Regions from separate parts of the Homo sapiens genome. Here region 1 is linked to region 2. Evidence: promoter capture Hi-C in 16 types of primary human blood cells and fetal thymus (Javierre and others, 2016). All regions are on one chromosome and are shown on one strand. Each heading gives the region's core, a stretch centred on a gene start or on the middle of the fragment in contact. The rest is flanking DNA. Distances are from core to core; before and after follow the strand shown. Region 1 overlaps PHOSPHO2-KLHL23 (PHOSPHO2-KLHL23 readthrough). Region 2 holds the start of PPIG (peptidylprolyl isomerase G).

Region 1 (6,580 bases), core at 1,521-4,020, 150 kb before region 2:
AAATAAGTTATATATATATATATATATATATATAATATAAAAAAGCTTATAGAGGCCGGGCGCAGTGGCTCACGCCTGTAATCCCAGCACTTTGGGAGGTCAAGGTGGGTGGATCACGAGGTCAGGAGATTGAGACCATCCTGGCTAACACGGTGAAACCCCGTCTCTACTAAAAATACAAAAAATTAGCAGGACGTGGTGGTGGGCGCCTGTAGTCCTAGCTACTCGGGAGGCTGAGGCAGGAGAATGGCGTGAACCCAGGAGACTGAGCTTGCAGTGAGCCAAGACAGTGCCACTGCACTCCAGCCTGGGTGACAGAGCGAGACTCCGTCTCAAAAAAAAAAAAAGCTTATAGAATAAGGATAAAAAGAAAGTATTTTTATAAGCTATATAAAGTCTACAGTAATGCCTGTAATTCCAGAAGTTTAGGAGGCTGAGGCAGGGGATCACTTGAGCCCAGGAGGAGTTTGAGACCAGCTTGGACTACAAAGTGAGACCACATCTCTACAAAAAATAAAAAAGTAGCCACGTGTGATAGCATGTGCCTGTAGTCCCAGCTACTCGGGAGGCTGAGGTGGGAGGATTGCTTGATCTCAGGAGGTCAAGGCTGCAGTGAGCTATGTTTACATCACCGCAGTCCAGCGTACGTGTCAGAGCAAGACCCTGTCTCAAAAAAAGTAAAAAGTCTACAGTAGTGTACAGTAATGTCCTAGGCCTTCACAATCCCTCCCCACTTACTCACCGACTCAACCAGAACAACTTCCAGTCCTGCAAGCTCCATTCATGGTAAGTGCCCCAAATAGGTCTACCATTTTTATCTTTTATGCTGTATTTTTACTGTACTGTTTCTATGTTTAGATACACAAAGACTTACCATTGTGTTATACTGCTTAGAATATTCAGTATAGTAACATGCTGTACAGGTCTGAAGCCTAGGAGTAACAGGCTATACCACACAGCCTAGGTGTGTATTAGGCTGTAGAATTAGTATGGTATAGCCTGTTGTTTAAGTATAACGTTCACATGACAAAATTGCCTAATCACACATTTCTCAGAACATATCCCCATTGTTAAGTGGCACATGGCTGTAATTAGAACACTAGATATAAAATGGAAGAAACACCATGAAAAAAGGGACAGATGAACTGCTGGGCATGGTCAGGGCAAGAAAACACTGCATTTGACGAGGGAAATCACAGCAGGTGGTGGTGGAATTTGACCTGGGTGATGGTAGGAAGTTGGCAAGTATAGATGAGAGGAGGCCATTCTAGACAGAGGGAAAAGCCAGTGCAAAGGCTTACTGGACAATGTTAAGTAGCCCAGTTTGACCAGGGCAGGTGGCACATTGAGGGTTGTTGCATGGGACTTTAAGGCTGGCATGGTAAGTTGAAGCCATGTAGCAAAGGATACTTACTGATGCCCAACAAAGAATCTGGATTTAATTCAGCCAGATTTTAAAGGTTTTTAAACAGAGGAATAGAGCAACTAACAAAGGAAGAACAGGTACCAGAAAGATCTAGTTACTGGCCAGGGTGGGCGGTCTCGAGGGCCTGATTTTGAAGGGGCTTTGGGTATGGAGGGAAGAGCATAGAGGAAAGAGACAGGTAAAACACACAGGTCTTGATGACTGACTGACGCAGAGGCAAACCAAACCGATTTTGAGGTCCTGAGCTGGAAAAACTGGAATCACTGATGCCAAAACAAGGAGGGGTGGGGGAAGTCGAGGAGGGGAAGGAGAGGGAGGGGAAGGAGGAGGAGGAAGAAGAAGGCAGAAGGAGGGAGAGGAGATGGGGGAGGGGAAGGGGAGGAGGGGGAGGGGGAGGGGAAGGGGGAGGAGAGGGAGGAGGGGGAGGAGAGGGAAGGAGGAGGAAGAAAGAGGAAGATAGGCGAAACATGAAAGGGAGATAGGGAGGAGAGGGAGGGGAAGGGGGAAGAGAGGGGAGGGTGAGGAAGGGGAGGGGGAGGAGGGGGAGGAAATAGGTTTGGAGGGAAGATGAAGAAAGGAAGAAAGATGATGAGGATCATTTTAGTTGAAAACGTTGGTTTTGTCTTTCCACTAACTTTTACCTAGCACCATTTTGCATGATACAGTTCAATCTTCTTGTTCCTTTCTATTCCAAAATAAAAGTGGATTTATAAGTAGAGCAGTTATGATGGAAAAAAATAAAGATTCAGGAGTTCCTAAACAGCCAAGTATTTATTTATTCTCTGTACATTAGTGAACTTAATTTGGGTCCAGGACCAAAAAAAGGTAATAAATTTTAAATTTGACTGTACCCAAATTAAGTTTATTACCAGAGAAAGCTGCTATTTCACTTCAAGGCTACAAAATAAAACGAATTGAAAAAAATGTTATCCTTTCTACCAAAAAATGGGAATCTAAAAGTTCAGTATGGCTGGGTGTGGTGGTTCACACCTATAATCCCCGCACTTTGGGAGGCCAAGGTAGGAGAATCATTTGAGGCCAGGGGTTCAAGACCAGCCTGGGCAACATAGTGAGACCCCCCGCCATTTCTAGTTTTAAAAATTAAAAATAAAATTTTAAAAATTGTTTAAAAAAAGTTCTGTATGAGTCCACCCACCAAAACAAGCAGTAGTCAAAACTGCACATAACTGGCAGTGTTACCTCTCCCTGGGATGACTAGATATAAACAAGAATCAAAGCTTTGAGTTCAAAGTATAAAACTGGAATTTCAGACCCAGTTAGCAGGTGAGGGAGGACTTTGAGGTATGAGGGTCTCCTACTCCACTCAAGGTTAACGCAAGCATGCATATGGCTTTTGTTTCACAGTAGATACACCATCGCAGCATATCTTTTTTCAACAAGCACTGTTCTAAATATAAATTTTTAAAATTTCAGTAAAGTAATAAGCTTTCATTCTCAAAGAAATATACTCTGAACCCACCCTTGTAATCCCAGCACTTTGGGAGGCCAAGGTGGGGGGATCACTTGAGGTCAGGAGTTCAAGACCAGCCTGGCCAACATGGTGAAACCCCGTCTCTACTAAAAATACAAAAATTACCTAGGTGTGGTGGCACATGCCTGTAATCCCAGCTACTCAGGAGGCTGAGGCAGGAGAACTGCTTGAACCCGGGAGGCAGAGGTTGCAGTGAGCCAAGATCACGCCACTGCATTCCAGCCTGGGAGACAGAGTGAGACTCCATCTCAAAAAAAAAAAAAGAAAAAGAAAAAGAAATATACTCTGAACCACAAAACCATTGAAACTGTTATATCATCCTTAAAAAACAGAATCAGAAATGTATGCTAGTTTACAATAGCTCCTTAAATATATGGACTTTTCTTATTTCTTTTGCAGAAGAGGGGTCAGGACATTCAGAGCCCTCCTGGAATCGGCAAGTAGTGGTGAGACTCAGGCAAAGACAAAAACCAGGGGAGCAACAGCACCGGGCTTTCTGCTACCTTCTCCCACCCTGGTGTGACAGTGGTCACAACTTCACATGAAATCAATTTCTGCTCTATAAGAGCTGACATGTCCTTCAATACCGACATTCAGGACAATCATGCGTAACATTTATAGCATGCTTACTCTGTGTCAGACACTGTTCTAGGCACTTCACAAGCATAGATTAATTTAATCCTCTCAATGATCCGAGACTAGGTAATATTGTCATCCCCATTATACAGATGACAAAACGGGGGCACAGGGTGATTAAACAATTTGCCAGAGCTCATCAGCAAGTAAGAGGAAAGCAGGGATCTGGATGCAGGCAGTTTAGCTTCAGAGGCAGCGTGCCTGATCCCAAGACTGTTCTGCCTCTCAGCTTCCTGCCTGTCATCCAAGGATCATACCAGGTCAGATTTCCAGACCAGGTCAAATTCCCACACTCTCACTAGCATTAAAAAAGAAACAGAAAAGCCTGGGAAGAAACATTTGGGACAAAATGATACAAATTTGGTAACGACCTACCAGTTGTTTTTGTACAACTCCTCAGCACCAATGAATAAATACAATGAAATAAGATTCCCGTTTAACTTTTTTTCCAGTGGGAGAGAAGGAGAGCAAGGCAAACAAATCGCCAAACACAGCAGAAAATAGTGTTTATCAGACAGATACCGAGACCCAGGGGTGTGCCGGGTTCTGTGGGCCACATGAGGGAGAGTATGGTGTCTGCCCCTCTCAGAGAGGACTGAATTGCAAAAGCAGACGTTGTCTCTAGTTCCTGGAAGAATGTACTTTGTTACATCCTGTAGGGACCAAACCTTCCAAGGTTTTAATGAAGGACCTCTTGAGAGCTGATCAGCGTATTTTGAGAGGAAAAAGTTGAATAGCAGAATTTTAAAGGGTTCAATTTTAAGAACATGAAAAAATGAAAAACTGTCCAGATTTGTCTCTTCATCTAGCCCTTGACTTGAATATAAATTCTCATAACTCTCAGACAAGTTGGGAACTATGCTATACTGTTTTTATCTGGAACATTCTGTGTAGCATTATTTGTATAATTAACTATAGTTCCTAGATAGCATCCCAAAGTGATAAATTCAAGAGAAGTGAGACTGCTGGCCTAGCTCCAGACATCTAAAAAATACAAAATAAACATAATCTCCACTTACCTTTAATCATGTTTGCAATAGGAATCCATTTCTCTTTTAAAGGATCATAGAACTCAGCCTCTTCTGCTGGAGCCCCTTTTCTGTAACCACCTAAAGCATAGACACAGCCACCCAAGGTGACTGCACAGTGGTAATACCTGGCATTGAGCATTGGCAAACCTTCTGTCCATTCATCACTTTCACTGTTATAGATCCACACTGTGTCAAGAGCTTCTATGTTATCCGTCCTGTAGCCCCCAGTTACATAAATGTTGGGTCCTAAACATGTAACACCATAGCTCTCCCTGGTATAATCTGGTATTTCTGCTCCCTGAATCCAAACATTTGTCAAAGGATCCCATATGTGAACCTCTGATAAAGGATGCCAGTAATAGCCTCCAATTATATACATTGTGGCTGTGGACCTCTGGGAAATCTCTTTATGCATGGGATTCAAGGCATTGTATATTAGGGAGCGGATCTTATTTTCGGTGAGCAGGCAGCTTCTTTGAAGGCCTAAGGCTGTTTTTAAGTACACTGGATCTATATCAATGTTGATATAGCTCAGTAGATTATAGAGGCATTCAATTCGATTTTCTACATCATGAGCAGTCCACTTAATAACTGGCTCTATGATAGCTTCTTCTTTCCAAACACTGAGATTCTTTCTGGACAAGATAAAGAGAAACTTTTCAAGGCTGATTTCCAGAAATTCTTCTTGTTGCCACACTTCCTTAAACTTTGAACATAGAATTCTTCGAGATTCCTTCTCTAGTTCTGGACACACATGAAATTCTGCAAAGGAGTGCATTCCAATACAATTATCAATATCCAAGTGCCTTACCAAAAACCGCTCACAAGCCTTCTTTACTGAAAGGAACTGTAGCAGATCCGCTGCCTCAAGCAGGCTTTGAACATTTCTTTTAGTTATTTCAATTTGGGAAGTGTATGCATAATTTACAAGGCCTTCCAGAATATCATGGTGGATGCCAGAGAGTTTTATTTTATTTTTAAATTTTTCTTTCATGTCAGCTGTGAACATTGCCTTAAAATAATTGCTGCAAGCAGCTAAAACGGCTCGGTGACAATGGAAAATTATGCCTGAAGGACACTGAAGAGTAATATCAGTAAATAATCCATCCAAGTAAAATGTTCTGAATGCATCCAGAAAATCCACTGGATGTGTTGAATCCTTGAAAAGATAAATATAATCTTCTTGTCCTTTTAGAGCCATGGCTGCAATAAATATGAAATAACAAATGTGTTTTCAATGTTGCACATTCTCTCAAATAATCAACGCTAAATAACTTGACTATCATCGGATATACTCCAAAACTGGACTAAGTTCAGCATCTAAATAATAAATGCAAAATGTGGATGGACTGTTTGATCATTTATATGGTGGTCAATTTAAATTCAGGGTAGCTCGGAGCTTGAAATGAGGCTCCTGGATTTTTCAGTAGTCCTTTTGAGAGTACTGATTTGCTATTCCATTCACCGCAATCTACCCTGGCCTGGCGTTCGGAGATGAGATCCCACACTAGGCAAGGCAAGTGTCCGAGGGTCACCCCACTCGAGGCCGGACCTCAGCTGTCTCGGCTCGGCCCCAATTCAACCTTTTCCCCAAGCTCGTCTCCCTTTCAAATCACATCGAAATGCCAAGAAAGGGATGATGGAAATATAAATGGACAAGAAGAGGTCTCGGAAAAGGGAAATCCCGAGCCCTTTCGCTTAAGGAAGGAGAGAAAGGAAGGCAGCTCGGCGCAGCCCTTGCAGCCCTCGCCCCCTCCCCCGCGCCCGCCGCAGGGGTTTCCGCGCGCCCCGCGCCTGGGCCCCGGCCCACGTTCCCGCCCGGAGACCGCCCCGCCCCGGGGCCAGGAGCGGGGCTGGACTCGAGGGCGCCGCGTGCCGCCCGCGGGCCCGGTGCCCGCGTCCCTCTGCCCGGCGCTCCGCGCAGGTGTGGGAAGGACGCCGCAGGCAGCCCCAGCGCAACGCGTTCGGCCCGGCCCGGCGCCCGCGCGGCCATTG
Region 2 (6,422 bases), core at 155-2,654:
AGTACCAAACTATAAAAGCAAATACTTTTGTATTTGTGTTCACTACTGCAAAATGTTGGTTACACACAGAAAGGGCTATCGTGGAAAGAAATTAAAATCAATGCACAAAATGGTGCTTTTATAGCATTTCCAAAACGATTGTGCATACTCCTTGCCAGCACATCTAGACTTTGCTCCTTAAGACTAAACATGAGCTGGCCGTGCGCGGTGGCTCTCGCCTGTAATCCCAGCACTTTGGGAGGCCGAGGTGGGCGGATCACGAGGTCAGGAGATCGACCATCCTGGCTAACACGGTGAAAACCCGTCTCTACTAAAAACACAAAAAATTAGCCGGGCATGGTGGCACGTGCCTGTAGTCCCAGCTACTTGGGAGGCTGAGGCAGAAGAATCACTTGAACCCAGGAGGCGGAGGTTGCAGTGAGCCAAGATCGCGCCACTGCATTCCAGCCTAGGCGACAGAGCGAGACTCCGTCTCAAAAAAAAAGACTAACCAAGAACCAAATTAGCATACTTCCCCTTCAGGCATACTGAGCCCCGAAATCATCATCTTCCTCCTAAAGAGTAATTATCTCCTCCTAAAAGGCCTGCGCAGCTCACAGCTCCTCCGAAACACGGGGGAACTTCGCGAGAGCTCAAGACCCTGGACTTGAGTTTTAGAAAAATGCTTAACAAAGTGGCCTCTGCCACTTAACTGCACGACAGCCACTGTGCTGTGAGAGGAAAAGGTCGAAAGAGGAGGAAAGCTAGTCTTCAATTTTAATCCCTGTGATTCAGGCTCTTCGCCCGTCACTCTCCAACCCTAGCCTGACAGGACGTCAGGCTGTCTCCCCCTTCCCCACCAGTCCCGCCACCTACCCCGCAACAGTGCTGAGTCTTAGGATTTTGAAGCTTTAAAAATCAACCCGGCTCCCTAGAGTTCAGGCCGCAGTCGCTGCCGCCATGTTACAGCTTGTGCGGCAAAATGCGTCAGTGAGGGAGGTGTGCGCCTGAGTGGGGAGGGCGGGGGCTGGCAGAGGAAGGACCGTCCCCAGGCCCCGGGGCTCGACTGCAAGCCTTCTCCTTCTGCAACAGCGGCAAAGGCACTGCTGCGGTCCTCAGGGACTTCCTCTGGGCCCAAGCAGCCCCGATACCTCGAGGGAAAGACGGTAAACCCAACCCGGTCAGCCGCGCCGGCTCCGCCCCTCTTCCCAGGCCCTTCCCGCTTTCGTACGCAGGGACTGCTGAAATGACGCCGCCAGAACAACTTGAGCCTCATACCACTTACCTGCACCGGTAGAGTTTTCCTCTTCTCTGGGTCCGGTCCTTTGAAGCGCTTCAAATCTACCGCCGCCAGAAAAGGCGCTAAAGCCCGCTAACCGCCTCCCTCCCCCACAACTCAGTCCTGGCATGGAGAGACAGCGTCGCACCGGAAGCGCGTCAGGAGTGGGTTGTCAGCATCGGCCAGCGTTCACCTGCTTGCGTCACCACGCCCTCCTAGGACTTCTAGGATTTTGGTGCCTTTTAAATTCCTAGTTTATAGGTGGCCTAATGCTTTGTGGATGCGTTGACTGGGAACGCTTGTAACCGTTAAAATGCCATATCCTTTGTGAAGTAAAGTGCCTCATTTAATAAACATTTATTGATCTTACGCTAGGTTATCAGAAAGGAAGGCCTACCTTCATGGAGCTTCCAGTTAAGCTTCCACTTAACGCTAGGATATAAGTTCTAAAAACGCAGTAATGAGCAAAGTGTTATTTGAGGAAAGAGGAAGAAATTACAAAGAGCTTTGATGTTCTTTGTTGTTTTACAGATAAAGAAATTGAGGCTCAGGGAAGATAAACGCCTCCTCCTCAAACACACTGTTCTTGAATGCCAAAGCAAGTCTTTTGATGCCAAATCTAGTGCCTTCTAGAGAAAATATGGCATATATTATTTAATTATTTTAAGGGGCAAGGGTCCCCGGATTATGTTAGAAATAAATAACCATTGCTGTTTGGGCGGGGGGGTGGGGGGGGATGGGCAGTGATTCTGGTAGGGATGTGGGGTGTGTTTTAAAGGAACTAGCTAACTAGAGGACTTAAATTGTTCTGTCGTTTAAAGGCAACGTAAATTATGATCATTTAAATTTTTCACTCACTTGCATCAGGTAAATTAATTATCAACAACAGTTAGGCATGTGGTGGTGCTTCTAAGGGGCGTGACCAGTTTTACACAGCAGTAAAACAGAGGACATTTCTGCCTCTCCACCCCCACCTCTTTTAAGTCATTGCCCTTTATTGCAGGAGAGCAGCAGCATATTCATCTTTAGATAGTTCAGAGATTAAACGGATTTACACTTCGCTGTGTGTGGAGGGGACAATTCTGCAATACCTTAAAACAGGGGTCCCCAACCCCTGGGCCACAGACTGGCCTGGCTAATTTTTTGTATTTTTAGTAGAGACAGGGTTTCTCCATGTAGGTCAGGCTGGTCTCAAACTCCCAACCTCAGGTGATCCGTCCTCCTTGGCCTCCCAAAGTGCCGGGATTACAGGTGTGAGCCACCACGCCCGGCCAACGCTTTTCGAAAGAAGACATACTTGCAGCCAACAATCATAATGAAAAAGCTCAACACCACCAATCATCAGAAAAATGCAAATCAAAACCGCAGTGAGATACTATCTCATACCAGTCAGAATGGCTATTATTAAAAAGTCAAAAAATAACAGGTGCTGGTGAGGTTGTGGAGAAAAAGGAACATTTTACAGTGCTGGTGGGAGTTTAAATGAATTCAACTATTGTGGAAGACAGCGTGGCGATTCCTCAAAGACCTAGAGGCAGAAATACCATTTGACCCAGCAATCACATTACTGGGTATATACCCAAAGGAATATAAGTTGTTCTGTTATAAAGACATACACATATGTATGTTCATTGCCACACTATTCACAATAGCGAAGACATGGAGTCAACCTAAATGTCCATCAATGGTAGACTTGATAAAGAAAATGTGGTACATATACTCCATGGAATACTATGCAGCCATGAAAAAGAATGATCTCATGCCCTTCGCAGGAACATGGATGGAGCTGGAGACCATTATCCTTAGCAAACTAATGCAGAAACAGAAAACCAAGTACCACATGTTCTCACTTATAAGTGGGAGCTAAATGATGAGAACACATGAAGACATAGAGGGGCACAATACACACTGGGGCCTATCAGAGTGTAGACAGTGGGAGGAGGGAGAGGATCAGGAAAAATAACTAATGGGTCCTAGACTTAATACCTAGGTGATGAAATATTCTGTACAACAAACCCCCATTACACAAGTTTACCTCTGTAACAAACCTGCATATGTACCCCACAACTTAAATAAAAATAAATAAATGGAAGGATACTGTATGTATAGTGTATATAATAAACAACATTTGTTATCCTATAGTTTCCTTATATATATTTATATATATATTTATTATCCTAGTGTGTGTATGTATACATATACTATATATGTGTATATATACATATATATACACACACATATATGTACGTGTGTGTGTATATATGTGTATATATATATAAATAAGTGTTGTTTAAGCCACTAAGTTTTGGGATGATTTTGTCACACAGCAAGGGATAACTGACACAGAGAAGAAAGAATAGACTGATTATCACGGAACTTTTCACTTGTCTAATTCTACATAGCTTCATTTTTTTTCTTTTTTTCTAGAGACAGGGTCTCATTATGTTGCTCAGGATGGACTTGAACTCCTGGAGTCAAGCGATTCTCCCACCTTAGTCTCCAGAGTAGCTGGGACTACAGGTATGTACCACCTCACCCAGTGATGACCTCACATCATAAGGATCTGAGTTTCTGCCAGCCCGAATCATCAAATGCCAGAGAAGTATTTTACTAACATAGCAGTAACAGCTCCAAAATTTGTACTCCCACTTACATAGTAGGGGGTGTCACTGGAAAGTGTCTGTTCTGCTAAGAACTACATTTTTTAGCTGTCCCCTTGTATCTTAGTGGCTTGAAACAACATTTATTATCCCATAGGTAAGGATTTAAAAATGCTTTTTGGGGCCGGGCGTGGTGGCTCATGCCTGTAATCCCAGCACTTTTGGAGGCTGAGATGGGTGGATCACGAGGTCAGGAGTTTGAGACCAGCCTGGCCAAGATGGTGAAACTCCAGCTCTACTAAAAATACAAAAATTAGCCGGGCACAGTGGTGGGCACCTGTAATCCCAGCTACTTGGGAGGCTGAGGCAGGAGAATCGCTTGAACCCAGGAGGTGGAGGTTGCAGTGAGCCAAGATTGCACCACTGCACTCTAGCCTGGGTGACAGAGCAAGACTCCATGTCAAAATAAATAAAATAAAATAAAATAAAATAAAATATAAAATAAATAAAATATACTTTGTGTCAGTGGAAAGTGAGCGGACATCCAGGCCAAAATGTTTGTGAAGTGCTATGCCTTCTCCATTCCCTCTCTTCCTGTTTTGTCAGCTGAACCAGAATGTTTTAAGGCCCTGGGGAAGGGCCTATGGAAAAGGTCTACTTCCCTGAATCTCTGTTTGGAGAAAAGTCCTCTTCCACTGACTAGGGATATCCACATTGGAATGTGGTGTGACTGATAAATCAAATTATGTGGGTTAAATCACTGATGTTTGGCTTTATTTGTTACACCAGATACCACTACCAATCTAATAGGCTGTGAGCCTAAAGTATTAGATTTGGCCTAGCCTGGATCACTTCAGTCATTGTAGTATGAGGAATGGGATTTGATACCAGAAGAAGGGAGGTAGGTTGGCTGGGCTACTGCAATTAACCTTTACTTTACCTGTGACTTTTGCTTTAGAGTAATAAAACTTTTTGTTTCTACCCATAGATCAACAACAAACTGTTGTTTGTTCTATTAATAGTTGTCTACTGTATCACCAATAATATGTTTAGTTTTTTTTAAAAGCATGCCATTCTCTGATTGTGATGGATCAAGGAAAAAACCAGACACTTCCATAATCTTGTTTCAGACAAAAACAAGAACATTGTACAAACTGTAAAAACGACCAAACATCGGCCGGGCATGGTGGCTCACGCCTGTAATCCCAGCACTTTGGGAGGCCAAGTCAGGCGGATCACAAGGTCAGAAGATCAAGACCATCCTGGCTAACACGGTGAAACCCTGTCTCTACTAAAAATACAAAAAATTAGCCAGGTGTGGTGGCAGGCGCCTGTAGTCCCAGCTACTTGGGAGGCTGAGGCAGGAGAATGGTGTGAACCTGGGAGGTGGAGCTTGCATTGAGCTGAGATCGTGCCATTGCACTCCAGCCTGGGTGACAGAGTGAGACTCTGTCTCAAAAAAAAAAAAAAAAAAAAGACGAAATATCCATCTATCCTTGCTAATATGAATGGCTGCTGTTTCTTTATCAATTACAGCTTTAACCTCAGTTCATTCTTCCTGCCTTCTAGATCAAGATTATTAGAATAGAATTACCCTTGCTTACTCACAGCATCCAATCTAGAGAAACCACTCTAAAACTCTCCAAAATCACTTAACACAAGGCTAAAAAAAATTTTTTTTTTCGAGACAGAGTCTCGCTCTGTTGCCCAGGCTGGAGTGCAGTGGTGCAATCTTGGCTTATTGCAACCTCTGCCTCCCGGATTCAAGTGATCCTCCCACCTCAGCCTCCCAAGTAGCTGGGATTATAAGCATGTGCCTCCATGCTTGGCTAATTTTCGTATTTTTAGTAGAGATGGGGTTTCACCATGTTGGCCAAGGTGGTCTCGAACTCCTGACCTCAAGTGATCTGCCTGTCTCAGTCTCCCAAAGTGCTGGGATTATGGGTGTAAGCCACTGTGCCTGGCCAAGACTATATGCTATAATGACAACTTTCTAACACCTTCTTATGGAGACACCTCTTAGGGTACAGCCTACTTCATTGCAACCAGTCAATAAACCCAACTTTGTTTAACTATATGTGTTCCTGGTGTTTTTTGACTGGAAGGCAATGACTTGGATCATGCTGTTTCATCTCTATGTTTTTCTTACATTTGTTTGAAAACCCCTTCTATGCTGTGCATTCAGATTACCTTCATCTCAGATCTATTATCAGTTGATCTAGTTCCAAGCAACCCAAATCAGTGCTGTATAAAATTATTGTCTGGGATTAGTGGTTGTCTAAAGTATTGGAGGACAGGAGGGGGTGAGGGAGACATGGGGAGTGACTGCTAATGGTTACAGGGTTTCTTTTTGGAGTTATGAAAATGTTCTAAATGTGAGTGATAGCTTCTCAACTCTGTGAATATACTAAAAAGCCATTGAATTGTACACTTTAAATGGGTGAATTTTATGGGACGTAAATGAAATCTCAGTAAAGCTGTTTAAAAAAAAAAAAGTGTGGGCTGCCAACTGTCAGGAAGTGAGCATCCAGAAGCTAGACGTGTCCCAGCTGCCCAATTGCGTT

Evidence for each region. The method cuts DNA at HindIII sites, captures the fragments that hold promoters and counts their contacts. A CHiCAGO score of 5 or more calls a contact.
Region 1: a fragment that was not itself captured here is called in contact with the fragment with the promoter of PPIG in region 2 in 2 of 17 cell types (megakaryocytes and total B cells); the score reaches 6.4 in megakaryocytes.

What each region holds. Positions count from the first base shown.
Region 1 is chr2:169,734,221-169,740,800 of GRCh38, reverse strand. All of the region lies in intron 3 of PHOSPHO2-KLHL23 (PHOSPHO2-KLHL23 readthrough), which reads right to left. KLHL23 (kelch like family member 23) reads right to left here. Exons shown (of 4, transcript NM_144711.6): 2 at 4,574-5,788. The coding sequence starts at 5,786. Among named protein-coding and RNA genes, the nearest start is that of KLHL23, 3.7 kb to the right of the region's middle. RefSeq lists silencers at 6,279-6,458, 6,569-6,580. The HindIII fragment of the contact is 208 bases long and covers 2,667-2,874 here.
Region 2 is chr2:169,579,333-169,585,754 of GRCh38, reverse strand. It overlaps PPIG (peptidylprolyl isomerase G), which reads right to left and starts at 1,404. Exons shown (of 14, transcript NM_004792.3): 1 at 1,265-1,404. RefSeq lists an enhancer at 1,439-1,488. The HindIII fragment of the contact is 789 bases long and covers 891-1,679 here.